4 separate regions of the Homo sapiens genome follow, and regions 2, 3 and 4 are each linked to region 1. The links are contacts of gene promoters, found by promoter capture Hi-C in blood cells and fetal thymus (Javierre and others, 2016). All regions are on one chromosome and are shown on one strand. The core of a region is centred on a gene start or on the middle of the fragment in contact, and the rest is flanking DNA. Distances in the headings are between cores, read along the strand shown.

Region 1 (3,470 bases), core at 971-3,470:
CCAGCTGGGGCGCGCCCAGGAAGCTCCACGCGCGGGTCTGGGGCTCATGGGAGTGGCTTTGAAAACATGCTTGTCTTCCCCAGAGCGGTCCCTAGCGCCAAAGATGCATTGGGGAAAAGGCACATTGGAGACGTCAGGCAGCCTGGTTTTCTGTCTGAATCAACTGTACGAGTTAAACAGTTTTATTTCGAAATTAACCAACATAAACAACAACAACAACAACAACATTCACTACCCATTCCCTCGTTAGGTTGGAAAACCAGTCTGAAAAAATAAATACAATCTGTGACCATGAAAAGGAGCAATCACTTATTTTTCCCATATGTTTTGAACATTATTTTTAAAAATAGATTGGGAATCTGGAGGGTAAAATGCCGGGTCCCTTCCCGAGCCCTTAGAGCCCGAACGTTGTCGAATCGGTCAATGTCCACCCCGCTGCTCACCTCTGTCCCAGCAGCGCCGGGGCCAGCGCGCCCTCCCGCCGCGTCTGCGGAGCTGCGGGAAAAGCAGGTCCCCGGGGGGTATCGAGTGTCCAGGGATATCCACGCAGACATCCTTGTACTTGCAAATACAAAGAAACACACAGGACAGAGATCAGGCTCGCGCCAGGGCTCGATCTCCTCGGGGCTCAGGGTTGGAGGCCGTACACAGCCTGGACACAAACTGAGCCAAAGAGTTTATTTTTAGCAAATAAGATATGAGTTTTTAGAAAATTGCTTCGAATAGCAAATCCGAGAAACATTATTTCAAAACGTTGGAATCAAAGGAAATCAAATGCCCACAACCCATTTCCGTCAGTGCTTACAAATGAGCTTCTGCAAAACCCAGTCCACTTAAACATTTGGTCGGAACTCACGAAAAGAACCAAAAGCAAGGCATTCCGAGTCCTGGCGGGGGTTGAGCGGCCGGGCGGACGCCTGGCTATCTCTTCTGGGAGTCGCGCATTCGATCGCATTCAGGTTAAAATTTAAAGCCCCTGGATCCTGCTCCAGTCGCCAGCCTCTCCATTCCAGAGTTTTCTACCTTCAGCCTTTTCCAAATGCGGCCACGCTGAAACTGGGAGCCGCCGCAGTGATTGGGGGAGGCAAAGTGGAACGTAATAAAAGTGACTAAATTGGATGAGAACGGTTTCTGGACCTTCTCGGTAGCAATTTAAAATTCAGAAGTGTTTAGAAGCAATTTACAACGAAGAATGAAAAACGAAGAATTCTCGCCAACTTCCTGAATTCCTTGCCCCCTCCCCCGCACTGCCAGGCCCTGTCCCGCTCCCCCAGGAGCCACAAGTTCACAACTCACAGTTACGTGCAGAGGAAACAACGCTTAGCTACGAGGTCTCACCATCTCTGGAAACCATACTTTACAAGGCACCTCTCCACCCCAGTTCAACTCTGCACAGGCTCCTCTTCCTTCCCTAACTGGGAAAACACGAAAATAGAAACAAAACAAAAAACCAGAGCCTAAACGCTTTCTAGGAGACCGACCTTCAGAAAATCATTTACTTGGATTTACCTGGGCGGGGGGTAGGGGGTGGGGTCGGGGTAAAGTATAAAAATTCATTCTCACAAAAACAACGCCTCTTGTCCTAAAGTCTCCCTCGGCAGCCTTCTGGGGTCACGTCTGTCGGAAGAAATCCTTTCTGTAAGCGAAAGGGAGCGAGACATATATCACGGCTCCTGCAGCGGACGAGCCTGCGGCCGCGCGAGTTGCCGCTGACAGATCGGCGCTGATAACCCCGCGACGTTCATTTCCAGTCCCTTTTGCCCGCTAGGGACCGTATCAGTTTGTACAGAGTTGTGATAACTGTTTGGAGGGAGCGAAGAGGGGGTGTGTATATGAACGTGGGGGTGGGGAAGCAGCATTTAGCGCTGGGTCCAGGGAAGGTGACACCCCCTCTTCGCAGTGACTTATCTGTGACTTACCTGAAACTCTCCAGGGAAATATCAGAAACTCTCCAGGGACATCAAAAGTTGGAGAGCGTCCTCGGACACGACTGATGTGGAAGCCCTTTTCCATTCTGCGTACCCCATAGACTACCTTTCCGTACATGACGACCCGAGTTAAAGTTCCCAAAGGTCAGCTGGGGAATGTTGTCTTGAGGTTCCCGAAACCACCACGACCTGAGCCGTAGCATCCCGAGATAGGGTCGGAGAAAGTTTAAGGTCGGTCTCACACAACTTCAGGGCAAAAAGCGCATTTGCTGTGAAGGGGCTAGGCGGGGGTTGGGGGGCGGGGGGGCGCAGAGCACGTTCCCCCTTCCTTCTGGGGGCGTGCTGACCCAAGGTCTGGAGCGCCCCTCCCGCCGCGGCGGCGGCGCGGGACTGTGCACTGCCAACTCCTCCCGTGCCAAGGCTCCCTCCCCCTCCCTCGTGTGGGTGTGTGTGTGCGACTGCGGGAGCGGGAGGGTGCACCGCCGCTGGATGGGTGCGGGTCGCTAGCCAGGTCAGGCGTTCTGTGGCCTCCGCCCCTCCCCCGGGGTCCCTGGGCTCGGTGCCCCCCGGGTGGACTCGCCCCCACTCCGGGGACAGGGCTTGCGGCTCAGCCCACGCCCGCAGGCAGCGCGGCTCTCATTGTCTGCCTGGGCGGCGCGCTCCCCTCCCCCCTCGCCGTCCCCTCCCCACCCTCTTTTCTCTCCTCCCCTCGATCCCTCCTCCTCCTCTTCACCTCCAGCGCCCAGCTGCTCGCTGAGCGCAGTTCCGACCCACAGCCTGGCACCCTTCGGCGAGCGCTGTTTGTTTAGGGCTCGGTGAGTCCAATCAGGAGCCCAGGCTGCAGTTTTCCGGCAGAGCAGTAAGAGGCGCCTCCTCTCTCCTTTTTATTCACCAGCAGCGCGGCGCAGACCCCGGACTCGCGCTCGCCCGCTGGCGCCCTCGGCTTCTCTCCGCGCCTGGGAGCACCCTCCGCCGCGGCCGTTCTCCATGCGCAGCGCCCGCCCGAGGTTCGGCTGCTTCCTCCTCGCGCGATCTCCCCGCTTTCCTCCCCTCCACCCCTACTCGTCGCGGGCCCCTGGCCTCCGGCTCTCCGGCCCTCTCCAGGCCGCGGTCGGCTCCGACGGTGTTTCCCTCCTTCCCTCCGGGCGGGCTGAGGCGGCTCCCAGGCTCCCGGGACACCGCGGACCAACTTCTAGTCTCTTTTTCTCTCCTCGAAGCGCTTATCTGCGCGCAGCCTTATCTCCGAGTTATCTCGGCGCAAAGGGGCGGGAGCCGGTAGTTAGGCAGGCAGAGAAACTTCTTTCTTGCTATCTAGCCAGGTCTGTGTGTGGGCATTAATTTTAGTGTGGTAATCTCCGATGAGCCGAGGCGATTTGGAAGAGCAGCCTGGAGGAGGCCAGCCCGGCTGCATTTCACCTCCCTCCCCCACTCGCTCCGAGTCTCCCTGTCATTCTTCCTGCTCTCCCATTTGGGGTCGCCTCGGCTCTGGGGCGGTCTCACGCTCCCCCCTCCCCAGCCCGTTGCGTTCCCCCTCCTTTTCTC
Region 2 (3,303 bases), core at 795-3,294, 230 kb after region 1:
AAAATAAAAGTGTTACAGAGAGTCAACCTACCTCAATATTTGAGAAACATTTCTATATACCCAGAATTCATCATATGCTCAGTAATCATGCCTGTAGATTATTTTCCAATCAAGAAGTACTGGTGCAGTTATTGCTAGCCAAAATATGAAACAACTCAGCTTTCTCATCTGGTTGACTGGTCCAATCAAGAAAATGTTTGGACAAGAAAAAGTTGTACATTTCTGTCTTAGTCCATTTGGACTGCTATAGAAAAATACTATAAATTGGGTGGCTTATAAACAACACACATTTATTTCTCACAGTTCTGGAGGCTGGGAAGGCATTGGCAGATTCAATGTCTAATGAGGGCTTGCTTCCTGGTTCATAGATGGTGTTCTTATGTGGTGGAAGACATGAGGGAGCTCTCTGGGGCTTCTTTTATAAGGGCACTAACTCCATGTTGGCCCCTCGTGACCTGATCACCTCCCAAGAGTCCCACCTCCCAGTGCATCACATAGCGGGTTGGGATTTCAACATATGAATTTTAGGGCATGCAAACACTCAATCTACAGAACTTTAGTTCCATCCTCCCACACCCCCACCCCCGGTATAGTTACACTGGGTGTGTTTAATCAAATCCCTTGCTATTCTTCCCAAAAATTAATGGTGTGATCTACTTACTGGCTTCTGTTTCCCACATAAGCAACTTAGGAATGAGAAAAAAGCTTGTACATTTCAGATCTGTAAAGAACAGTTACCAATTTTCTTATGATACTGCAAAAGACATAGTTTTATCTGATTTCCAGGTCATCTACTGCATTGCTTTGGCCACGGTTTAATCCTATGAAGGTCTCTATCCTAAAAACTATTGGACAAGGTCTCTATTCTTAAGACTTGAGTGTTGTTGTCATTAATAATTTATATGGGCTGGGCACGGTGGTCCCAGCACTTTGGGAGGCCTAGGTGGGTGGATCACCTGAGGTCAGGAGTTTGAGACCAGCCTGGCCAACATGGTGAAACCCTGTATCTACTGAAAATACAGAAGTGAAGTGGGTGTGGTGGTGGACACCTGTAAATCCCAGCTATTCAGGAGGCTGAGGCAGGAGGAGAATCACTTGAACCAGGGAGGCAGAGGTTGCAGTGAGCTGAGATTGTGCCACTGCACTCCAGCCTAGGCAACAAGAGTGAAACTTCATCTCAAAAAATATTAAGAAAATTAAAAATTAAAAATAAAAAAATTAATAGTATATATTGGAGTCATGCACTTCTACAAAAATAGCTGCATGCTGAGTTTGGCTGATTCTTCCATCTTAGAAACAATTTGGTAGGTAAAATTTAAATGTTATTACCCTTACATAGACGAGGCTATTAGTGCACAGGAGGTTAAATTTAAGGTCACACAATTAGTGCTGAGCCAAATGTAGAAATCAGGTTTCCTTGTCTACAATTCCTCCCACTGGACCAAATTCCCCCTTAGAGCAATGCAGAAACAGCATTCTAGAAGGAATTTAGATTTATTTCTAAACTCGATCTGGTTCCATTGTGAGTATAAAAACCTGATTTGCAATCGGAGCCTGGAGTGTCACCCACCGCCTGTGTGGATGATTTTGTTACCAGCTGCTGAAACACTTCAATGGGAAGACATGGAATTCCTGCAGGAAATGACTCCAGGCAGCTCTGAATAAGTGAGGAAATTAAATGACTAACTTCAATGTTTCCTGGTTTTTGTCTATCTTAATTAACAATTTATTTTGGTAAAGGAAAAACTGAATAACTTTTTAATAGTCAACACGTAAAACTTAATATTTGTTTATAATAAAAACATGATTTCCATGTCTACTTTTATTTGCAAAACACCCAGCTTTTTAAATAATTTTCTCCTTCGGTAATTGTGTTTATTGAAGAGTTTCTCTTTAAAAAAACAATGACAGCATATATATGTGGGAAATATCAATTTCCTTCTCATAGTTCCCAAAGGCACACTTATGAAAAATGTGTTGATTATTAACAGAGCTAATATTTTTGTGGTAGTGTTATTACTGAACATCTATAAGAATTGGAGTTTGGGGTTGACAGAGGTGCTGCAGTCCAAATACATTATTGATTTCTATGTCATGTTAAATGTAGCATGGACCTAATTGAACATAATTACTACTTTTGATACATATTTTATGTGGTTCCTACTTTGCCTTCATTCATTTATTCCACAATACTTACTGAATGTCTGCCATGTACCAGGCATTCTTCTAGGTGCTGAGATACAAGGTAAATTAAACAAAGCTCCTGCTCCCATGGAGCTAACGTTCTAGTTGAAGGGAAAACAGACAATTAACAAAAAGACAGGAAAATATGTCAGGGAGTTGTAATTGCTATGAAGAAAAACAGAGTGAGACAAGAATGAGGGAGGGGTACTACCTTAAATGGCGGGGGGTCAGGAAATCAGGGAAATCCTGGGTTTGTCTGTGGAAAGTTAATAATTTCAGACTAATAATCCATCACGGACAACTATCATCGTGGCTGTATAATTGTGACATTCCATTCTTTCCTGGGTTCTACAAGTGTTTAGGAAAAACTTTTAAATTCAAGGTTAATGGTTAGCAATTTCGAGAAAGCTGATTTTATATCCGTGTAACTTCTGTCTTTATTTTTAGCCTTCTTTACAGGACAGTATCTCTTAGGACTAAAGAAGTTGGGGCAAAACCAAAGTTCTCCTCACAGGGCTACTTAACTTTCATGCCAAGCAAACATAAACAAATTTGAATTAGTAATTAAGTTTAGAGACACCAATTACATTTTTACTGAAATTAAATAAAGGCAAATTCTCCTTAATATTTCCAGAATGACTATTAACAACCACAAGTGTTACCTTTTGTTGAACAACATAATGTGCCAAGTACAGAACTTCATGTACATCTTCTTTCTTGTTTTTCAGCAGCCCTAGATATGGGCACAATTGCTCCCATCTTTTAGGTAAGGAAATTGGGACTCTGATAAGTTAAATACTCTCCCTGAGGTCCCAGAAGTAATCATGTCATATTTGGAGTCTGACATCACTTCTGCCTGATCTTATGCGTCTGCAAGGAACAATGAAGATGATCTAATTTAACCTCATTTTACATATGGGTAAACAGAGACAGCTGTGGTGACCTGCCCAGGGTCACAGAACCAGTGAGCTGGTAGCAGAGTTGGGACTAGAGCCCAGTAGGAACTCCTCCGATGACACCGTGCTGCCTCCCAGTGAGAGCTATGCAAGCCAAACTCTGCAACCCACTGCCTTTTCAATGAACATCCAGGTCAGTTGGGTACCCACTTGGGACCAGGAT
Region 3 (3,095 bases), core at 181-2,680, 190 kb after region 1:
GCTTCAATTTTGAGTTCAGTCAAAGTGTTCTGGGACCAGTACATCATGCTGAACTTTGGAGATTACCATATTTGATAGACCGACCTTATGTGGACATGTTTCCTATTGCAAATACATAAACATATTAAATGTAAAGAGTGTCAAGAAAACACTTTAAAGTATATACTCAAGCAAGCAAGAAAGGGAAAGTTGTGGGTTTCACAAACAAAAAGAAAACTGCAACTTAGAAGGGAGCGCTACAGTTGATGCTGAGGTGTGCCATGGGCTTAGGTCTCAGGAACTGCGGGCTGGGAGTTTAATGCTTAATCTTGACAAGGCATGGCTTGAGGGCTGGGACTCAGACCCTCAATTCCAGATACTCAAAGGGCTACCGGTCTTTGTAAAGGAACTATACAAACAAATATCTTTGGGTCAGACCAAAAACTTGGGATTTAATAGAAGCAAAGATAAAAATGTATCTGAAGAGATCTTTCCACAAGTAAGGGTACATGGGACTTCTACTGGAAAACACCTTTTGCTGAAGATGAGCTAAAATAAATTGCAAACTATATGAAGGACAAACCCACCGTGGTGTAGAGTCAGCAGATGCAATAAATGGGAACACAGTAACCAAGACTGTGAGAAAACAGAACGATCCAAAAGAGACATAAAATAGAAATTCTGAAAATGAATAGAAATAAATGATAGAAATTATATGACAAGCAAATGACCTTCTAATAAAAGAATAAGCAGATTTGAAAAAGAACAAAATAGAAATTGTGAAAAGGAAAAATATTGACATTTAGAATTCAGTAGATGGGTCAAAGAACAAACTAGTCATAATCGAAGGCAGAATTATTGAATCAAAAGGTAGAGCTGAAGAAATCACCCAGAATATAGTACAGAGAGATAAGGAAGTGGAAATTTGAAGGGAGTTTTTGTGATTTGCCTGATAGACTAAAGAGACCCAATACAAATCCAAATGAGAGTTCTGGAATGAAGATATTCAGAGAATTGGGGAAATGTAATGTTGGAAGGCTAGGAGGCTGATAATTTTCTAGAAACGAAGAAAAATTTGAGTCCGCAGAATAAAGAGGCACACTCCAGCAATTGCAGTCTCTCTCCTTCTCTCAATCAGTTTTTTTCCTCTCAATTATGTTATTATCATCAGCAAGAAAAGATATTGCAACAACTTGTCATAGTAAAATAAAGCAAACTTCCCTTGTCTGCTACTCTGCTCCAGATACTACTCCATTCCTCTGCTCCCTTTCACAGCAACACTCATTCAGAGTTGCCTAAAGTCCCCATGTATACTTTCTCTGCTCTTATTCTTTTTCAAAACCCCTCTAATCAGGATTTTATCCTGGTCACCACATAGGAACAGTTTATTACGGTTACTGAGGCTGCCCACATTGCCAAGTCCAGTGGCCGATTCTCCATCTTCATGATGTGCAACTGGCAGCATTGGACAGAGTTGTGTGATTTCTCCTCTTGGAAACGTTTTCTTCTCTTGGCTTCTAGGGACCACTTTCTCTGGGTTCTCCTCATACTGTTCTGATTGTTCCTTTTCAGTTTCCTTGTTGGTTCCTTTTCACCTGTGGACCTTAAACATGAAGTTTTTGAGGATGTAGGCTCCTTCCTTACTCTCTAAGGCAATCTCCTCCCAGTCCTGTGGCTGTGAGTCCTACTGCTAACAACTCCCACATTGCTCTCTCCAGCCTGGACCTCTTCTCTGAAATTCAAATTCCCATATCCAGCCTCCTATACCACAGCTCCATTTTACCATCTGACAGACATCTCAAACTCACTGTCTTCAAAGGAAAACCCCTGACATTGCATCTCTCCCTCCACCTAAACTGTTCTTAACAATTGCCCATGTCACAAAAAGATTTTTTTCATTCTTTCAGTTATTTGGTTCAAAGAATTTCATGTGATGCTTGTATCTTCTCTATCTCATACCCCATATCCAATTCAGCAAATGTCGCCAGTTCTATCCCGAAAAGATACCCAGACTTTGACCATTTCTCAATGCCTCCATCACTACTGCCATGTTCTGTCATCTTTCCTCCATCATCTTTCCTCTGGACCATGGCAGTAGTCTACAACTGGTCATTCTGCTGTCCTTCCTACTTGCATCCCTACACAATAAAATGTCTGTTCTCTGCGCAACAGTCACAATGAGCCTTTTAGACAAATGTCATACTCTATTATTTAAGACTGTTTAGTGGTTTCTCAGAGCCTTTCCAAAGTCTTTGCAATGGACTGGAGGATCCGTGTGCATTACTCACCCCTCCACGTGTCTGACCTGATCCATTCTCCCTCTCACTACTCCTGTCCAGACACATTGGCTTCTATGCTCTTCCTTGAGCACAGCAGGCATTCTCTGACCTCCAGGCTCGTGCTTGTGCTGTATCCTCTGCCGCAATGCTCTTTCCCCAGATATTTAGATAGTTGGTGTCCTCATTTTCTTCAGGTATCTGCTCAAATATCAGCTTATCAAAAAAGACCTCCTGACCACCTTATACATAGTACTCTCCCAGCATCCACTACCCCCATGTCCTAATTTATTTTTTTCCATAGCTCTTATCATTATCAGACATAATGTATTTCCATGAGACTGTTAGTTAATTTCCATTTCCTCCCACCAGAAGGTAAGCTGCATGAACACAGGGACTTTGTCTGATTTGCTCTCTGCTGATCCCTAGTGCCTGGATCTAGCAAGTAGTAGGGGCACAATAAGTATATATCAAGTGAATGAATGAGTTTCAAGCAGAATATACAGCTGACCCTTGGACAACATGGGTTTGAACTGTGTGGGTCCACTTACATGCAGATTTTTCTCAATAAAACTTATGCTAAGTGTGCCTGCCTCCCCTTCCACCTCCTCCTCCTCTTCCGCCTCTGCCACCCCTGACACAGCAAGACCAACCCCTCCTCTTCCTCCTCTTCTGCTACTCAACATGAAGATGATAAAAATGAAGACCTTTATGAGATCCACTTCCACTTAATGAATAGTAAATATATTTTCTCTTCCTTATGATTTTTAATAACTTTTTTCTGTAGCTTACTTTATTGTAAGAATACAGTATGTAACACATATACAAAACATGTGTTCA
Region 4 (3,350 bases), core at 99-2,598, 210 kb after region 1:
TTATTTTTATTTGTTAATATTTCTCTAAAATTTTACATTAAATGCTTTCAGCAGCAAGGAGGTTAAAAATTAAGTGCATGATTAATAAAAAATTAAGTGCTGAGTTTCTATTTCTTAAGAAAGTTGATGTTGAAAGGTTAAGTGACACAAACTACTGGTTGGCATTCAAAGTGCTACAGTGGTAACATTGTCAAAACTGCTGAAGAAATGTTACCATCTGCTTCCAAGTTAGTAGTTAAGTAGTGTAGTGGGTTGAATGGTAGTCCACCCAAAATGTATGTATACTCAGAACCTGTGAAAGTGACCTAATTTTTAAAAAGAGGTCTTACCTGCAGATGTAATTAAGGATCTCAAGATGAAATCATTCTGGATGATCCAGGTGAGCCCTAAATCCTATGACAAGTGTCATTCTAAGACAGAGAAGAGGAGACAGAGACATGGAGGAGAAGGCCATATGAAGATGAAGATGGAGATGGAGTGCTGTGGCCACAAGCAAAGCTGACAGCCACCAGAAGCTGGAAGGAGCAAGGAGCGATTGTCACCCAGAGCCTTCAGTGGGAGTGTGGCCCTGTGGACACTTTGATTTTGGACTTCTGGCCTCCAGAACTGTAAGAATAAATTCTGTTCTTTTAAGCCACCATGTTTGTAGCAATTGGTTATGCAAACTTAAAAGACAAATAACAAGTAGTCTCAATGATTCAACACATGAACCTACAGCAGGAAGGTTACATATTACCCCGTGAAGCATAATTTCTCACTTTGACTACGTATCTGTTTTTCTAAATCCACTTAATCCTTTTCATTCTAAATTTTCTTTGTATGTAAGAAAATGAAGCTGTACTCTAAATGAATTGTCTCCATTTGCAGGAAAAGAACTTTGCACACAGTTAAATGATGCCAGATTTTCATCACTGTCATCAGATGCGTTATAAAGAAAATTAGTTAATTTCAGTAATGTCTGGATTTATTTTATCCAATTCACGGAATTAATCTCATTCATGGAAGCTCCCCGTCACAGTGGGGACATCTGACATTATTTCAAATGCTACTGTAAAATAAGACAACAAGTCCAACATTGAAGAGAGATATATATATGTATATATATATTTTTTTTTTGCAGAGTTGATACAAATATAAATATACACATTTTGTCAGTGGTGATGGAGCGGGGTGGGTGGGGAGGTTGCTGAGCAGTGCGTTGATGTTCAACAGGTTTCACAGCCACCTCCAAAGCAGTGCAATCCAGATGAAGGACAGAGAAGTTATGAAGGATGCGTTCACCAACTTGTAGTCGCCAGGCAATGGACGGGCACACTCAGGACCCATTGGGACAGATGCAGCACAGTGCAAAGCCAGCAATGGTAATTAGAACAACCTCTGCAGATTCACCCTCCCTCTCTCGCTCCCTCCCTCCTTCCCTCCCTCCCTCCTTCTTTCCTTCCTTCTTTCATCATTTTATTATGTGAATTTTCAAAATTATGAAAGCCAGAATAGTACAATGAACCTTATGTCCCTGTCACCTAGCATCAATATCAATATGGATATCTTGCTAAATTTGTTCAATCTATCTCCCTCCAACCTTTGCTTTTTGCTAAGGTAGTTTAAAATAAATCCCAGAACCATGCCACTTCACCCATAAATGCTACATTATTATGAATGATTTCTTTCTGCTAGTGAAACTAATGAATATTTATTATAGACAATTCAGATAAGCATAAAGGGGAAATTAAAGTTGCCCACACTCCTACAATCTACATCACTGTTAATTTTTGATGTTTTTTGATCTAGTCCTTTAAATTACGTGTATGTGTGAATATATATATTTAATATATCCTATCTATCAGTATGTTAATCAGTGAGAAGGCCTTCTGTAACAGAAAACCCAGTTCACACTTGCTTAAACAAGAAGTGGAACTTTTTTGGCTTATATACTTGAAACATTCAGTGGCAGGGTAGGTTTCATGCCTGGCTTGATTAGACCTCCTGCTCAGTTTCTTCATCGTTCTCTAGTGACTCTTGTATATTGATTGGCTTTATTCTCGGGCTGGCTTCCCTTCTGGCAACAAGACTAGGATTCAGGCTCTCACATCCATCTTCACAGGGAGGAAGAGCCCCACTTCTCATAGCTTTTGCATAAGAGTCCTGAGCTCTACTTGGATTGGCCCACTTGTGAACTAATCACTAAAACAAGGGACCCGAGAATACCCTGTTTGAACAACTTGGATCCTTGGGAGGTAGGGGCGGGAGGATGCACCCAAACACCATGTCTTCACCCAATGGTGGAGGTGTTAAGAGATGGCATGGACGTTGGGGAGGAAGCCTTAACGTGTATTATCCTATGCCTTCTTACTTTATGTATGTATCTATTTATATTCTCCCTGTCTCTTTAAATCTTGGAAATTTAGTTCGCCTCCCTCCCCTTTTCACATTCAAGATAAACACACAATGCCCACTGCAAGCTACATGAATTTCTGGGGTTTGGGAGGTGAGGGGAAGGTGGCCACTTTGGGCTCTTCCTTCCTCCTTCTGCTGGACTCTTGCTCTCTACTCTGTGACTTGCACTGACCCCAGTTGTGGAATTTGCCCCTTCCTTGCATATCCCAAGAGAAACAACTTATATAAAATATTTGCATATCTGGTAGACTCCACTTAAGGTTTAGGGCATTTGAGGAGGGAGGGTTCTCAACAGGGGTGATTTTGCCACTCGAAGGACATTTGGCAACAACTAGAGACGCTTTTGATTGTTACAACATTTTTGGTTGTTACAAGTGCTACTGTCATTTAAGATAGTAGAGACCAAGGATGCTGCAAGGCACAGGACAGCCCTCCCCAAATGAGTTATCCTCTCTATGTGTCTTTGTTGAGAAGCTCTGCTTTAAGATATCTGGAAGTCCTGGGGCCATACTTGATGGTGCTTGGCAGTTCCCTCCGATTCCTTTCTACGTTCCTTCTTCATTGCTTTTCCTCATCCATAATTCCTCTTTATTTCTAATACAGAGCTAGCTAGCTATTCCCTTATGTTTTCATCCTCCAGTAGACCTTGCTTTCAGGCTCATACCTCCACCCCAAGATATTTAATGAAGTGTCTTCCTAAGCAAATATAGTACAGTCTCTAAGAGAAATTTTATTGCTGTTTGTTAAGATAATTCTTATTTCCAGCTTATTATATACCCACATACTCCAAGTGATACTTGGGATAAAACAGTGGATAGTATTTCTCCACATGCTTTTTAAAGTTAATATTGGGTTTCATGAATATTTTTCCATTGCTTACCTAATATGATGCTATTTGCCAAATATTTCTGGGTCTTCTCACTTCTAGGCATGTTGTAAGATTGCACTTCCTGACA

Evidence for each region. The method cuts DNA at HindIII sites, captures the fragments that hold promoters and counts their contacts. A CHiCAGO score of 5 or more calls a contact.
Region 2: a fragment that was not itself captured here is called in contact with the fragment with the promoter of GATA6-AS1 in region 1 in 1 of 17 cell types (endothelial precursors); the score reaches 5.0 in endothelial precursors.
Region 3: a fragment that was not itself captured here is called in contact with the fragment with the promoter of GATA6-AS1 in region 1 in 2 of 17 cell types (naive CD8 T cells and total CD8 T cells); the score reaches 6.0 in naive CD8 T cells.
Region 4: a fragment that was not itself captured here is called in contact with the fragment with the promoter of GATA6-AS1 in region 1 in 1 of 17 cell types (total CD8 T cells); the score reaches 5.6 in total CD8 T cells.

The regions. Positions count from the first base shown.
Region 1 is chr18:22,166,748-22,170,217 of GRCh38, forward strand. GATA6-AS1 (GATA6 antisense RNA 1 (head to head)) reads right to left here and starts at 2,221. Exons shown (of 2, transcript NR_102763.1): 1 at 1,920-2,221; 2 at 151-1,636. GATA6 (GATA binding protein 6) reads left to right here and starts at 2,842. Exons shown (of 7, transcript NM_005257.6): 1 at 2,842-2,935. RefSeq lists an enhancer at 487-990. The HindIII fragment of the contact is 8,900 bases long and covers 1-3,470 here.
Region 2 is chr18:22,397,036-22,400,338 of GRCh38, forward strand. No RefSeq gene overlaps it. Among named protein-coding and RNA genes, the nearest start is that of CTAGE1, 19 kb to the right of the region's middle. The HindIII fragment of the contact is 2,683 bases long and covers 704-3,303 here.
Region 3 is chr18:22,361,398-22,364,492 of GRCh38, forward strand. No RefSeq gene overlaps it. Among named protein-coding and RNA genes, the nearest start is that of CTAGE1, 55 kb to the right of the region's middle. The HindIII fragment of the contact is 8,909 bases long and covers 1-3,095 here.
Region 4 is chr18:22,379,118-22,382,467 of GRCh38, forward strand. No RefSeq gene overlaps it. Among named protein-coding and RNA genes, the nearest start is that of CTAGE1, 37 kb to the right of the region's middle. The HindIII fragment of the contact is 5,755 bases long and covers 1-3,350 here.